Regions from separate parts of the Homo sapiens genome. Here all the other regions are linked to region 3. The links are contacts of gene promoters, found by promoter capture Hi-C in blood cells and fetal thymus (Javierre and others, 2016). All regions are on one chromosome and are shown on one strand. Each heading gives the region's core, a stretch centred on a gene start or on the middle of the fragment in contact. The rest is flanking DNA. Distances are from core to core; before and after follow the strand shown.

Region 1 (4,596 bases), core at 381-2,880, 970 kb before region 3:
TCAGGGAGAGGGATAGTATGGTCAGGGTGTGAAAATGCAAGGTGTGTTCAAGGAAGCATGTGACATGAGGTATGATTAGAGCAAGGTGATGGTCTTGGGGTGGCAAGCCCTGACTATGAAGGGCATAGTGTTCCAGGGCTCAGAGCTTAGACATGGTTCTGAGATGAAGGATGGTTTAATCTGGGGAGTACCATTTGACAGATAACTCTTGTAGCATAACTCCGCTGGAGTGGAGGAAGACCATATCCAAAGGTAGCCATTAGGAGTGCGATTGCAGCGCTTCAGGGGATGAAGAAGGGAGACTAGAGTGAGAAGAGCTTAAAGGAAGGAGTGACAGGACTCAAGACTCACTGAAGAATGGGGTAAGGAATCTCAAGAGTTTGCCTTTCAAATTCTTAGTTTGATTAACTGTCTAGAAGTTGATGCTGTTAAGTGAGTAATAAAAGGGAAGAGGTTTGGTGGGGGAAAGAAGGTGAGTTCCACATGAGATAAGCTGGAATTTGGACATCTATAAGAGACTCTGCAGACAGTAGGAAATAAGTGCCTGGAGCTCAAGAGAATTTTGGAGACTTGAGATATGCCTATGGCTGTTATAGATGGAAGCATGAGGTGAACAGAGCACCATGGGCAGAGGAAATAGCAACAGATGTAAAAGGAAAGGAAGAGAAAACCAGGAAGGAGATGGGAAAAGATAGAGAGATAGGAGGAGAACCAGGAAGGAGTAGGGTTCTGGAAGCTGGGGGCAGTGTTTCAAAGGCAGAAAGGTCACATAGGATGAAGGCAGTAAAGAGGTTTTTGTGTTTGATGGCTAGCATGCGATTGGTGACCTGAGCAATAGCAGTTTCATATAAAATTTGGCAGGGCGCAGTGGCTCATGCCTGAAAGCCCAGCACTTTGGGAGGCCAAGGCAGTGGATTACTTGAGCCCAGAAGTTCGAGACCAGCCTGAGCAACATGGTGAAACCCTGTCTCTACAAACAATACAAAATTAGCTATGCCACTGCCACTCTAGCCTGGGCAGAGTGAGACAGTTTCCAAAAAAAAAAAAAAAAAAAAAAAGGCAAGATTTGAAGTGTGAAAAATGGACAAAAAGAATACAGACAACTTTCTTTTAAATAAGCTTAATCAAGCAAGGAAGGGGAGAATTAAGGTGATAGTTTATATGAGTAAATAAACAGCTGTGGAAAAATACCAATTAAGATGGGAAAGGCCGGGTGCAGTGGCTCATACCTGTAACCCCAGCACTTTGGGAGGATGAGGCAGTCAGGTTACTTGAGGACAAGAGTTCAAGGCCAGACTGATCAACAAAACAAGATTCTGTTTCTACACAATATTAAAAAAATTCAGCCAGGCATGGTGGTGCATGCCTGTAGTTCTGGCTACTCAAGAGACTGAGGAGGGAGAATCGCTTCTGCAGCCAAGGATTTTGAAGCTGCAGTGAGCTATGATTACACCACTGCATTCCAGCCTAAACAACAGAGCAAGACCTCATCTCTGTCTCTCTCTCAAAAAAAAAAAAAAAAAAAAAAAAGATGGGAAAGGGTTAAACAGGTTTTAAGCTAATGTGAGTAAAGTGTCAGTAGGAGAGATTAAAAATATTACATATTAGAGTAAGACTAACTGAAGAAGTTAAGACCATGTTATCCTGAAGGAGAAGAACTTCCTATGAGATCAAGAACAAAAGTGAGAGTTAAAGGAGAGGGAGCTTCCTTTTCTGTCCTAGGCTGAGACAGGAGGAAAAGAATTATTTATAGGTAGCATATCTTGTTTGTTAGTAATTATATGGTAGGAACTGTGCTGAGCACTTTATGTGCCATGTCTTGTTTCATCTGTACAATCACCCTATGAAAATACATACTCCCATTTTATAGATAATGAAACTGAGGCTCAGAGCTGTGAAGTAACTTGCCTGAGGCCGTACACTTTGGGGTAAAGCCCAGGACGATTCCAGACCCCTTACTCTTGTTCTTAACCACAGTCCTAGTCTGCCTCCTGCTGGTGAGTTCTCCCGTTTTCTCTGGGAAGTAGGGAGTGAAATATCTGCTGAGAATGAGTAGAAGTGAGGTTGGGGCTTGAAAGTACCAAAGGTTTGGGGCAGCCACTTGAGGAACAAGAAAAGGCACCAGCTGGTGTTAAGCTTAAAGCATATCCAAGCGAGACGGAGGACCCAGTCGAAGCCAGAGTTCCTAGGGAGGTGATGCAGTCAGTTAGGACGTTGGCTGATGCTCTCTGGAAGTGCAGCAGCAGAAGGGAGTAAAACCAGTTGTTTTGTTGATCCAAGAATAAGCTGAGACATGACTGACCAAGGATCCCAGCTGGGAAGGACATGAAATCAGAAAGAGCCTGGTAGAGGGGCAATAGGGACAGGAGGTCTTAAGTGGAAAAGCAGGCTTGGTGGTAATGAAGTAATGGAACACATAGGTGGAATGGGTATTATGGTCAGAGAGTAGAGTTTCTAAGTTGAAGCTTTCAGGGATGGTGGTGATAAAGTGTTCAGTTTTTTTTTTTTTTTTCTGGGTAACTAACAATCTCAAAGGACAAATGTTTGTTCTTTCTCATGGGTCTGTGAGTTGGCAGGCATTCCACTGATTTCAACTGGGCTGACCTGGGCTGGTTGTGCTCCAGGCTGCAGGGCTTAGGCAGAAGGGACAGCAACCATCAGGGGATGCTCTTCTCAGGGTGGGTCGCAGAAGCACAAGAGGTCAAGCCAAACACACAGGTGCACATAAGGCCTCTGCGCACATCACACTCACCCATATTCCACTGGCCAAAAGAAGTCACATGGCTAAGTTCCCAATGAGTGAAGTAGGGAAGTATATGCCATCCCAAAGGAAGAGGGGTGGATAAATATTTCTAAACAATACTTCAGTCGCTCCATGTGAGTAAGGGGGTTTGTTCAGGGTGCAGGGGACAGGAAGGAAAGAATATTTGCATGCAAGAAGTCAATACAGCAAATGGTAACAAAACAAGGATAGCAGTCACCCAAATGTTATGAAACAGAAAATATTAATATTCAGAAATCCTGAGCATGTGTCTTTTTAAATAGCACCTACTGGTCAAATCTTGGGTTGCACCTTGGTGTAAGACGCTGTTTATGGAGCCTCATTGATTGGGCTGGTGATTGTGTCCATTTGAGGGTCCAGGCTTTCTCAAGGACAGCAGAACTGGCTCAGAGCAACCAGTCTATCACCTAGGCAGGCAGAACAGAGAGCTCACACCTTCGTGCATTAATCTACCCATCCAGTCAAAAGATATTTCTTGAATGGATGCTTCTAGGTGCTGGATGTACAATGATAAGCCAGACGGGCATGGTCTCTGACATCTTAGAGCTTGCGCTTTAGAGAGGAGATTTTTTTTAAAGTTAAAAAAATAGAATGTGGTCAATGCTATGAAATTGAAAAAACAAACTAATGGTCAGATTCTATCCGATCTGTGTTGGTTCAGTTTTGCTTGTTCAATTACGTTATGCTTGTTCTGAGAGCCTCATTCCACACAGTGTATGTTACCACTGCCATGAGCACTGATGGAGCATTTCTTATGGAGCACTGGGCTGGTCACCAGGGAACACAATGATTCCGCAATGAGTTTACAATCCATCTGTGAAAACAGTGCTTGACCATAAGAAGACATCAATATGATGTTATTAGGTTCTTATCACCCTCACCTCATACTGGCACTAAATAAATGTGTAGGGAATTCATAGGAAGAAGTAATTCATTTCACTCTTTGTTGAATGCCTGCCTGGTGCTGAGCACTATGCTGCCTGCCTACGTTAAGGGTCGCCTACATATGGCTGGGACACAGCGCCGGAGCCCCATGGCAGTGCAAGCATTTTCCCACTAGATGGCGCCCAAGCGATCCTTTCAGACAACGTTATCCTGAAGGCGCTTCCTTCTGAGTGTCTCTGAAGAGCCTGGGCATTTTTTTTTCCTGAGTACCATACAGAGCCTTAGAAGGAGGGAGGAGTGGCGGGCAAGTGCCAGAAGGATCAGAGCTGTTTTATATGTGGGTTAGAGAGCATCTGGCACTGAACAGATGCAGTAGCACCTTTATTTGCTCACTGTCCTTGACAATGTTTATATTACTAACCTAACTAATGACAACCTTAAAATTCATTATGGAATTGATTCATGCATAACCATTGGCAGGTTGTATTATCCAGGAGGATGGGCAAACGGCCTGAGGCTATTGAGCCCAGGAGAGAACTTATTCACATCTTTCTGCCCAGGAAAGATTGGTTTAGTAATCTCAGAATATCCAGACTAAGAGCTACTGGCACTTTATCGCCATTAAAAAAAGAGCTGTTCTTTCTACCTTTCTCCACTCTTTAATGTAAAACCTTCAATTCTACAGAGAGTTGAAAGAATAGTATACATCCATATGCTCCTTTCCAGGATTTGCCACTTTTTATCATTCTCCAACATCTGGCTCTCTCTCTCTTTTTCTGCACTTTAAGACTCATGAATTTTAATTTTTTTCTGTTTCATAGTGTTATCATAATTTTTCTTTTGATGCTTAGATTGTTTCAGATTTGGCCCGTTAAGCAGGCTGCACCTCATTTCTCCTTGAGCACTTACTTGCATTCTACCCCTGACCC
Region 2 (4,128 bases), core at 941-3,440, 870 kb before region 3:
GTCATTATTTTTATTTTATTTTATTTTATTTATTTTATTTTTTTGAGATGGAGTCTTGCTCTGTCGCCCAGGCTGGAGTGCAGTGGCGCCATCTCGGCTCACTGCAAGCTCCGCCTCCCGGGTTCACCCCATTCTCCTGCCTCAGCCTCCTGAGTAGCTGGGACTACAGGCATCCGCCACCATGCCCGGCTAATTTTTTGTATTTTAGTAGAGACGGGGTTTCACCATGTTAGCCAGGATGGTCTAGATCTCCTGACCTCGTGATCCACCCGCCTTGGCCTCCTAAAGTGCTGGGATTACAGGCTTGAGCCACCGCGCCGGGCCAACTGTCATTATTTTTAAAGCTTCACTGTGTTCCTTGCTCCTGTGTCCTTTGTCTAAATTCTTCTAACTTTGATGAGCCAAATTCTACACATAGTTTCACCCAGAGAACCTGCAGGCTCAAGAAAAAAATACTATTATAATAATATATGATGATATAAGATTGGTTAGAAGATGCTAAGGAGAATCCAAGCAATCAGAGAAAAATAAAACCAAGCTCCCTGTCTTTGATATAGCACATCTTGGGGAAAGATCAAGTCAGAAAAGCAGATGGCCGGCCTGGCTCATTGTGGAATTGGTATTCTGAGATAACTTACAGGTCCCAAACCATGTCGCTGTAAGGTGTTCTGAGAAAGAACATTTGACTGCTACCCAGACCCCTCTGCAGGTTCTTCTGTTTAGGGAGAATGGGAGGCAAAACACTACAAAACCTGTAGGCTTTAGAAATAGACAGACTAGCTGTGTGACCTTGGGGAAATTGCCTAACTTCTCTGAGCCTCAGTTTGCTCACCTGGTAAAAGGGAGATAATATTTCCCTTTCAGGGTTGTGATGAGGATGAAATGGAAAAACCATCTGATATGTGCTTGTCATAGATTATCAACAGCTGTTACCTCTCTTCTATGTACTGAAAAAGCCATCTGTTACCCTAATTCATAAAAAGGAGGGGAGGGCAGGGATGGTTTGAGCTTGGACATTTTCTGGCCTTTCTCAATGACAATTTAGAATGCAGTGAGGGGAAAGCTTTTATTTTTGAATATTTCTATTTCACTGTCTCACTGGGTCACTCTGGGGCCTCTAGAAATTGTATTCTCCAGATATAGTATGATGTTGTCAGCATATGCATACATTTTTATCACTTCTTTAGTTTATCTTTGTATAAACCACATATATCTGGGAAATTTAACCAACTGCCTTTCTACAAGTGGTGTCATATTTAGGCAGATGGTTACTTTTTGGGTACACAATTGTGTAGGGAAGCCATCTTGCACTGAGACTCTGAGACCATGGGCTTCCCAGCCTTAGCATCTTACTTACTGTCACCTCTCTAGGCTTTAGAGGGGTTGATTATTGGGTTTCTAAAATCCTTCTAAATTTCCCAAATTCTATGGTTCAAAGTCTTTGTGTAACTGTCCAATAGAACAAGCATATAAGTGGCCAAACTTCTGTGATGATACTCCTTTCCCCTAAAGCCAGTGAATCTTCTGAACATTCAGAAATTGGGATACTGGTGAATATGCCACAGTGGAAATGCATAGGTAACTTCAACAAGCAAATAATCTTCAATGATGAATCAATATCTTCTAATCCACTGAGCCTAAAGCTGCAACTGTTTGAGATTCATTAAGGATTCTTAAATCTAACATGTATTTGTCATTTTGAATTATGGCCATATGCTTTGCAGATGGCCTCTGAGTGGGTCTTCCTTATTCAAGAAGGAGTAGGGTCACATTCATTATTTGTACATTACTTTTTTAAAGATTCATGGGATTAAAGGATGAAATCAGAACTCAGACAATCCAGGAGCAACCTGCGTGGATGAGAATAGTCATCTTCCATATTCCACATGGGATCTGTACTTTCAGTTAAAATATTTATATAATTATGGTATCATTAAAAAAGTCATTTCCAGATCTCACTGACTTCGTTGATGAATCACCCACTCACCGGTTTAAGTTACATGTGACAAGACAGCTTCTATTACTATTTTGTTTCTTGTTCTTGGATTCCATGAGATATCTATACTTAGCAATATGATACTCTCCTCTTTTATTTGCACTAGGGTGAACGTATTTCTCTTTCAAGCAACCAAAAAAGTCCTGGCTGGAACAGAGGAGGCGATGGCAGGCCATTGCTAAACTTTGCTGTGTTGTGGCAGTACAGTTTCTGTCCCTTTTATCTTGTTAACTGTCAGTACTCCAAACAAGCGAGTAGAACAATTGCCATCCGTTCAGCATGAAGAACCCCATGGAAGGGATCTAGAGGGAGATGTCACACCATAGATGTACTGAGTGAGATGGTATCATGGTGGCCATTCCTCAAAATATCAGCACTGCCCTCCAGAATCCACCCAGATGACATTGATCAAGCATCTACTGTAAGCCAGACACTTGGAGAGGTGCTGGGAATACAGAGATGAGAAAGACAGGGTATTTGCTCTTGGGTGGTTCATTCCATAATGATAGCAACAACTTATATAGAACCTGTTCTATGCCAGGCATTGTTTTAAATGCTTCATGTATGTTAGCTTGTGTGATCTTCAGAACAACCCCATGAGGTGGGAACTATTCTTACCATCCCTGTTTTATAGACAGGGAAACTGAAACACAGAGAATCTGGGTAACTTGCCCTAGTTACATAGCTAGTGAGGAGCAGAACCAGAATCCAAACCTAAGCAGTCAGCTCCAGAGTTGGGCTCCCCACTGGCACATTCTGCTTGTACTCTCCTTTTCTCTGATAATCCCATGACATCTTTATCTCCTTAAGCCATATAGCATTTTCTTAGGCTTATTTCTTTCATAATAACCATTATAAAAATAACAACAACAAAAAATACTTTCAACCAAAAAAGGCAGAAAAAAGGCAACACAACATAACAAAATTAATTTACCCAGGTCCCATTACTGTTGTCATTTTAGTTTATGTCCTTTAAATTTGTGTCAAACTAACATAGTATTTTCAGGCATGCTTTTTTCTTTTAGGATTATGCCAGAGTTTCCCCACTATATTCTTTTTTGACATAACTTTTAATACACTACCAGTTTGAGTGTTTTCCAGTCATGGCTACACTATACAATTGACTTAACTGATCCCTTACTCTTGGACATGCCTAAAATTCCTCTGTCATAACACTGTTGTGAACATCTTTGCATATGTATTTTTTTCTATATGTCTGATAATTTTCTTAGATGGTGTAGGCTTTTAACTTTTGGAGCGTGCAGGTAGGAAAAGCAGGATCAGTTTTCAGATTCAGATTCAAAAGAAACATTTAAGCTTTTTTCACTCCTAGAGAGCTGGAAACAATAATACCTTAAAGGTCTAAAGCATGATCTAGATCATTCACCTACCCTTTAGGAGGACTTTTTTTTTTTTTTGAGACTGAGTCTCGCTCTGTTGCCCAAGCTGGAGTGCAGTGGCGTGATCGCAGCTCACTGCAACCTCTGCCTCCTGGGTTCAAGTGATTCTCCTGCCTCAGCCTCCCATGTAGCTGGGGCTACAGGCACCTGCCACCACGCCCAGCTAATTTTTGTATTTTTAGTAGAGACAGGGTTTCACCATGTTGGCCAGGCTGGGCTTGAACTCCTGAGCTCAAGTGATCCACCCACCTCGGCCTCCCAAAGTGCTGGGATTATAGGCGTGAGCCACCGCACCCAGCCTTAGGAGGAATGTTAAAACTTATGCTTTGTCCTTTTGGAAATATCATGTATCTTCTTCCTATGAAATGGATTCATGATGTTCCATTATAAGTTAGCTAAACAAAGATTTCACTGGTCTAGTTGCCCCTGTGGCCCATCTTGAAGAATCACTCTATGGAATGATGGGCAATCAAACACAAGAGGATCAGGAAGAAACAAAATAGGTTTAACAGAATCTCTGTAATAGTGAAAATATCGACAGGTTGACAAGGACCACAGGGAAAGCACAGTATGAAACAAATGGTAAGTAAAGGTCCAACAAGTGGTGGGTGATTCAGTGAAGAGACAGCAATGCAGAGTGGTTACCACGGGCCTTGTAGGAACATGGAGCTGAGTTTGATTTCATTTCTTAGTTTCTGTGTCATCTTGCACAAGTTGTTCCATTTTTCTAAG
Region 3 (4,672 bases), core at 1,587-4,086:
CAATACTTGGTACATCATAGATGCTCTTTAGGTGTGATTCTCTCCTCCCTATCCGCAAAGAACTGCCCCAGGAGCACCCAGAAACTGATTAGCACAACAGTTAAGAGGATGGGCTCCAGAGGCAGGCAGCCTAGACTAAAATACTTGCTCTACCACTTAGCTGTGTGACCGTGAACAAGTTACTTAACCTCTCTGTGCCTCAGTTTCCTCATCTGTAAATTAGAGATGATCAGTAACTTCCTTGTCGAATATGTATGAAAATTTAATGTAAGGAATATAACAGGTCAAAATGTAAATAAGCCACACTTAGTTAGGGCTCCTTCTACTCCCCAAGTTTTCACTCATTTAATTCACACAACAACCCTACAGGAAATGTATTCCTTTTTTCCCATTTTACAGATGAGGCAACTGGGATGCAGAGATGTTCAATAGGCTTCCCAGACTCACCCAGACAGCAAATGGCAGATCAGAGATTCAAACTTGGGAAGTCTCCTTCCAGAATCTGTTTTCTTAGCCACTACGTTACAATTATAAGCCCAATTGGTGTTACTTAATATTGCTGTATAGCCAGGACACCAGAAGCAGGATAGGCTGGGAGTTCTAAAATGTCTCATTCCTTCTTCTGCCCCCTCCCTCCACCCTAGTCCTTTTACCTTCCTCTTCCATCCCCAGTCCCCATTCTTGTTGTCATTCAACACTCATAATGAAGTTCTTAGATGCTTCATGTTCAATATCATCCAAGATCTCCATTCCAATCAAATTTAAGTTTAAAGTGATAGTTACACTTAATTAGAGTCAAATTCTTCTTTTATTTTGGGTTTATCTTAATCATCCCTTTTATCCACTGATCCAGAAGCCTGCAATTTCACACACGGGCACCCAGAAATGCTATATTATTCATTTGGGACCGTGAGACAAACAGAGTTCATGGTCTTGTACATCCATTGTCAGAAGACTTTTATACTCAAATAATTGAGTCAGTTGGGCAGCCACAGCCCCTGGGGAAAAAATTGAGCCAAAAGAGTATAGAAAAAATATAATTTCTCCAAAAGACTCTTTTTTTTTTTTGAGATGGAGTCTCACTCTGTTGCCTCGGCTGGAGCGCAATGGCGTTATCTCGGCTCACTGCAACCTCCGCCTCCTGGGTTCAAGCGATTCTCCTGCCTCAGCCTCCTGAGTAGCTGGGATTACAGATGTGCACCACCACGCCCAGCTAATTTTTGTATTTTTAATAGAGATGGGGTTTCACCAGGTTGGCCAGGCTGGTCTTGAACTCCTGACCTCATGATCTGCTTGCCTCGGCCTCCCAAAGTGCTGGGATTACAGGCATGAGCCACTGCGCCCAGCCCAAAAGACTCTTTCTAAAAACAGTATCAGAATAACATGTTTTCCCTAAAAACCTCTCCACTGAGAAGAATGTATATGTTCAGAAAGAAACACTGGTAACATTTCAGAAATCAATGACAAGATAGGCCAGTGCCCAACAATGGAAAACACAGTGTGTGGGACTATCACAGTGCACAGTCCCCTAGAAACCAAAGAGGAAGAGAAGTACAGAATTTTAAAGCTTGAAAGAGGCCCAAAGACCATGTAATCCAGTTACTTGCAAACCCTTTCTAAGGGCAGATTCTTTTGTTCAAATGAAATCTTACCCGGAAGATTTATATAAAAGCTGAGATGCTCTTATTGAGTCAGGAAGGAACGGGGTGGTCTAGAGCCTAACCCACTCTACTCCACTCCCATCCTCTCACCCGCAAAAGTCCTTGTAAGGGCTCCAGGGAGCCCCTGGGGTTCCTCAAGTCACAGTTTGAAAAAAATCACTATTTCAATCCCACTTCCTCCTTTTGCCACTGGGGAAAAATGAAGCCCAGAGAAGTCCAGGTTACCCAGCCAAGATAGGGGTCTAGGCAGTCACCTATCTTCCTTCAACAATTTTTCCATGATGACACCCCGAATCCTCTCACGAACTGCCTTTTGTTTCTGCAGACTATATGCGTATTTGTATTTGTGTGTTTGTAACCATGCCCGGTGATCCCAAGAAAACATAACAAACCAGTCCTTGCTTTCGCTTTAAAGCTTGGAGTCTGCCATTTGAATACAACATCTCGGCTGCCCAAGATGGCTAGAAGCAGAATGCAAAAAGGCACAGGGTTATAAATACCTGTCTCATAGATGACCTGGGACACTGTGCTTTGCAGCCTAAATTAGGCAGAGTTTCTGTTGTCACGAAGAAGTACTAAAAAGCGGGCAGTTCTCAGCGAGACACCTGAGAGCTGGCATCCACATGAGGAGAGGCCCCATCACTTACATTACACTCATGAAGCCCAGAGATGTTAGCTACATTTTTCTAGGTAGCACAGCTAGGAAATGATGGACACTGAATTTGAATCTAAAGGCAACTAGCTGCAAAACCTGAGGTCTTAACACTGGGCCTATAATGCTCTTCCTTCTCACCACATGGGAAAAACGGAGAAAGACATGATCTTACAAAAGCACTGGGCTCAGCCAGCCTGGGAGAGAGGCAGCGCAGACCGGCACCAGGGTGGAATCTCTGTGTTTCCCCTCCAGCTTGCACAGAGGAAAATTCCTCACCAAACGCACGATCCCCGCACAGCTCCCAGGGACAAGAATTTTCTGCTTGTTTACTGAGTCCCCTGGGCTGGGAGTGGGGGGTTGCAGGGCAGGGGTGAGCTGCGCACAAAAGCAGGATAAAGGTAAACTTTCTGCATATGAGAACCATTTCCCCCCCTCCAAGGAGCCGTGTCACACTGTATGTCACCGTCATCAAAGGGGCTGTGCGTAAACCTGAAAAACCAAACGGACCTGTCTGTAGGTGTCACTTATATCACAAGGCTACAGGTGTCTTTATTTCCACTGCACGCTGGTGCTGGGAGCGCCTGCCTTCTCTTGCCTTGAAAGCCTCCTCTTTGGACCTAGCCACCGCTGCCCTCACGTAAGCGCCTTTTCTTTGCTTTTTTGGATGAATCGTAAGGGGTGTCAGGGCTCAGAGGCTCGGCCTGGGGCCTGGGTCTGCTCGTCCATCTCCAGCTCCAGGGCCGGCACCTGCGCTGGGTGCAGTCCCAGGGCCTCCGGGAGCTGTTTGACACGGATGTGACGGCTTGCCTCAGAGAGACCTGCTTGCCTCCGCAGGCCGTGTGGCCACCAGCCCTCCTCACAGCCACCACTCCCTCTGGATCCCTTAGCTGAACCAAGGGGAATTAAGAGAACGCGCCCAGGCGCTCAGTTCTCTATCCTCCCTAAAGCTTCTTTAGGAAGGGAAGCTGGATTTTACTCAGAAAAATATTCAGCTTCAAGGAAAGCCCCCCACCTACCCTTCTCCCCTGACTGAATTCCTTTCCCCACCGGCCTGCCCACTGTCCCCCACCCCCTCGATACAGAGAACTCCCTTATTATAGTTTGGGGCATTTTCAGGAATTTGTACAAAACAGTTTTAAAAGAAACCCATTTGCCCTCTGACATCTCCCCAGAAGAGAATGCTTCCAGAAAAGCAATGGTTAGCGTTTTTCCACTGTGTTCTCAGGCCTTGTCAGACTCTGCAGTGTGTGGGGTTTCTGTGGGGTTGCCCCCTGCTGACAGCGACAGGTAGCACAAGCTCCCTCCTCAGGCTGAAGCCGGGCCTGCGTGTGGATGCCTTTTGTACGCCCGAAAGTGTGTCAGACATCACTAGGTGCAATCGCTTCATGTTACAGATGAGGAAACTGAGGCCAGAAAGGCTAGATGACTTAGGGAGGCAGCTCTGTGGTTCAGTCTAGTCCAGAGACCCAGGGAAAGGGGTGGTTTGCCCATCCGAGTGAACGCTTGATTCTGTTGTCTTCGTGTTCTCTGCAATACTGTTTTTCATAATCTAAGGTATTCTCGGGCCGGAGTTTTCAGTTTGGTCATCTCCCTTTTTCAGAAGTCACCAGAGTGGCAAATTTTTAGATACATTGTTGATGGCTGATTTTTCCCTCTAAAACAGGATTGAATATATGTATTATGCCCCGTCCTTTGCATATATCGGATTGCATGATTTAAAAAAAAAAAAATCCCCATTTTAGAGATGAGGAAACCGTAGTTCGAAGAGGGGCATGAATATTTATATACCACATCTATATGAAAAAAAGCTTAAGAATTTCAGCAGTCTGGGTAGTAAGAAATGTGCCCCACGTTCGCAGCAGCAGAGGTAGGATTTAACCCCTGATATATGTAATCCAAAACTGGTAAGCTTTGCATCGAAGCCTACAGCAAACTACATGGCATACCTTTTTGGATCTTCGCTGCACCTTCAGAAAAACAGCTACAAACAAACAAACACGCAAACTCCCTAAGCGAGCTAAAGAAAAATGAGGAATCACTTGACAAGAGGTCAGCAAATTGGTTCTCACAGTTGCTAGGGTTCCTCTCAGAAGAACAAACCCTCAAGCACCCAACCCTCAATCTTTCTTTAGCAGTAAGTGTTGAAATACTCCACTGGGTTCTCCTCAGTGGGCCCCTTCTTAGGGAGGTCCAAGGGCTGGGAAATTGACCCTCCCTTGCTCACAAGTCTTGGGACGGAGTGGACATTTGGGTATCACTGAGGCTTTAAGGAAGGAAAACCGATTTTCTTCCCAATGATACCACTCAGAGGGTGGGGTTGAGGAAGCCCAATCTTGGCCACTTTTTTCTATATTTT

Evidence for each region. Contacts are between HindIII fragments. The CHiCAGO score rates a contact against its expected background, and 5 or more counts as called.
Region 1: a contact is called between a fragment that was not itself captured here and the fragment with the promoter of ELF5 in region 3, in 1 of 17 cell types (total CD4 T cells). The highest score is 6.3, in total CD4 T cells.
Region 2: a contact is called between a fragment that was not itself captured here and the fragment with the promoter of ELF5 in region 3, in 1 of 17 cell types (total B cells). The highest score is 5.0, in total B cells.

What each region holds. Positions count from the first base shown.
Region 1 is chr11:35,485,132-35,489,727 of GRCh38, reverse strand. All of the region lies in intron 3 of PAMR1 (peptidase domain containing associated with muscle regeneration 1), which reads left to right. Among named protein-coding and RNA genes, the nearest start is that of PAMR1, 38 kb to the left of the region's middle. RefSeq lists a silencer at 3,740-3,789. The HindIII fragment of the contact is 1,017 bases long and covers 1,122-2,138 here.
Region 2 is chr11:35,382,082-35,386,209 of GRCh38, reverse strand. The region is part of intron 1 of SLC1A2 (solute carrier family 1 member 2); the gene reads left to right. Among named protein-coding and RNA genes, the nearest start is that of SLC1A2-AS2, 35 kb to the left of the region's middle. The HindIII fragment of the contact is 2,250 bases long and covers 1,066-3,315 here.
Region 3 is chr11:34,511,958-34,516,629 of GRCh38, reverse strand. It overlaps ELF5 (E74 like ETS transcription factor 5), which reads left to right and starts at 2,836. Exons shown (of 7, transcript NM_001422.4): 1 at 2,836-2,953. The HindIII fragment of the contact is 1,187 bases long and covers 2,079-3,265 here.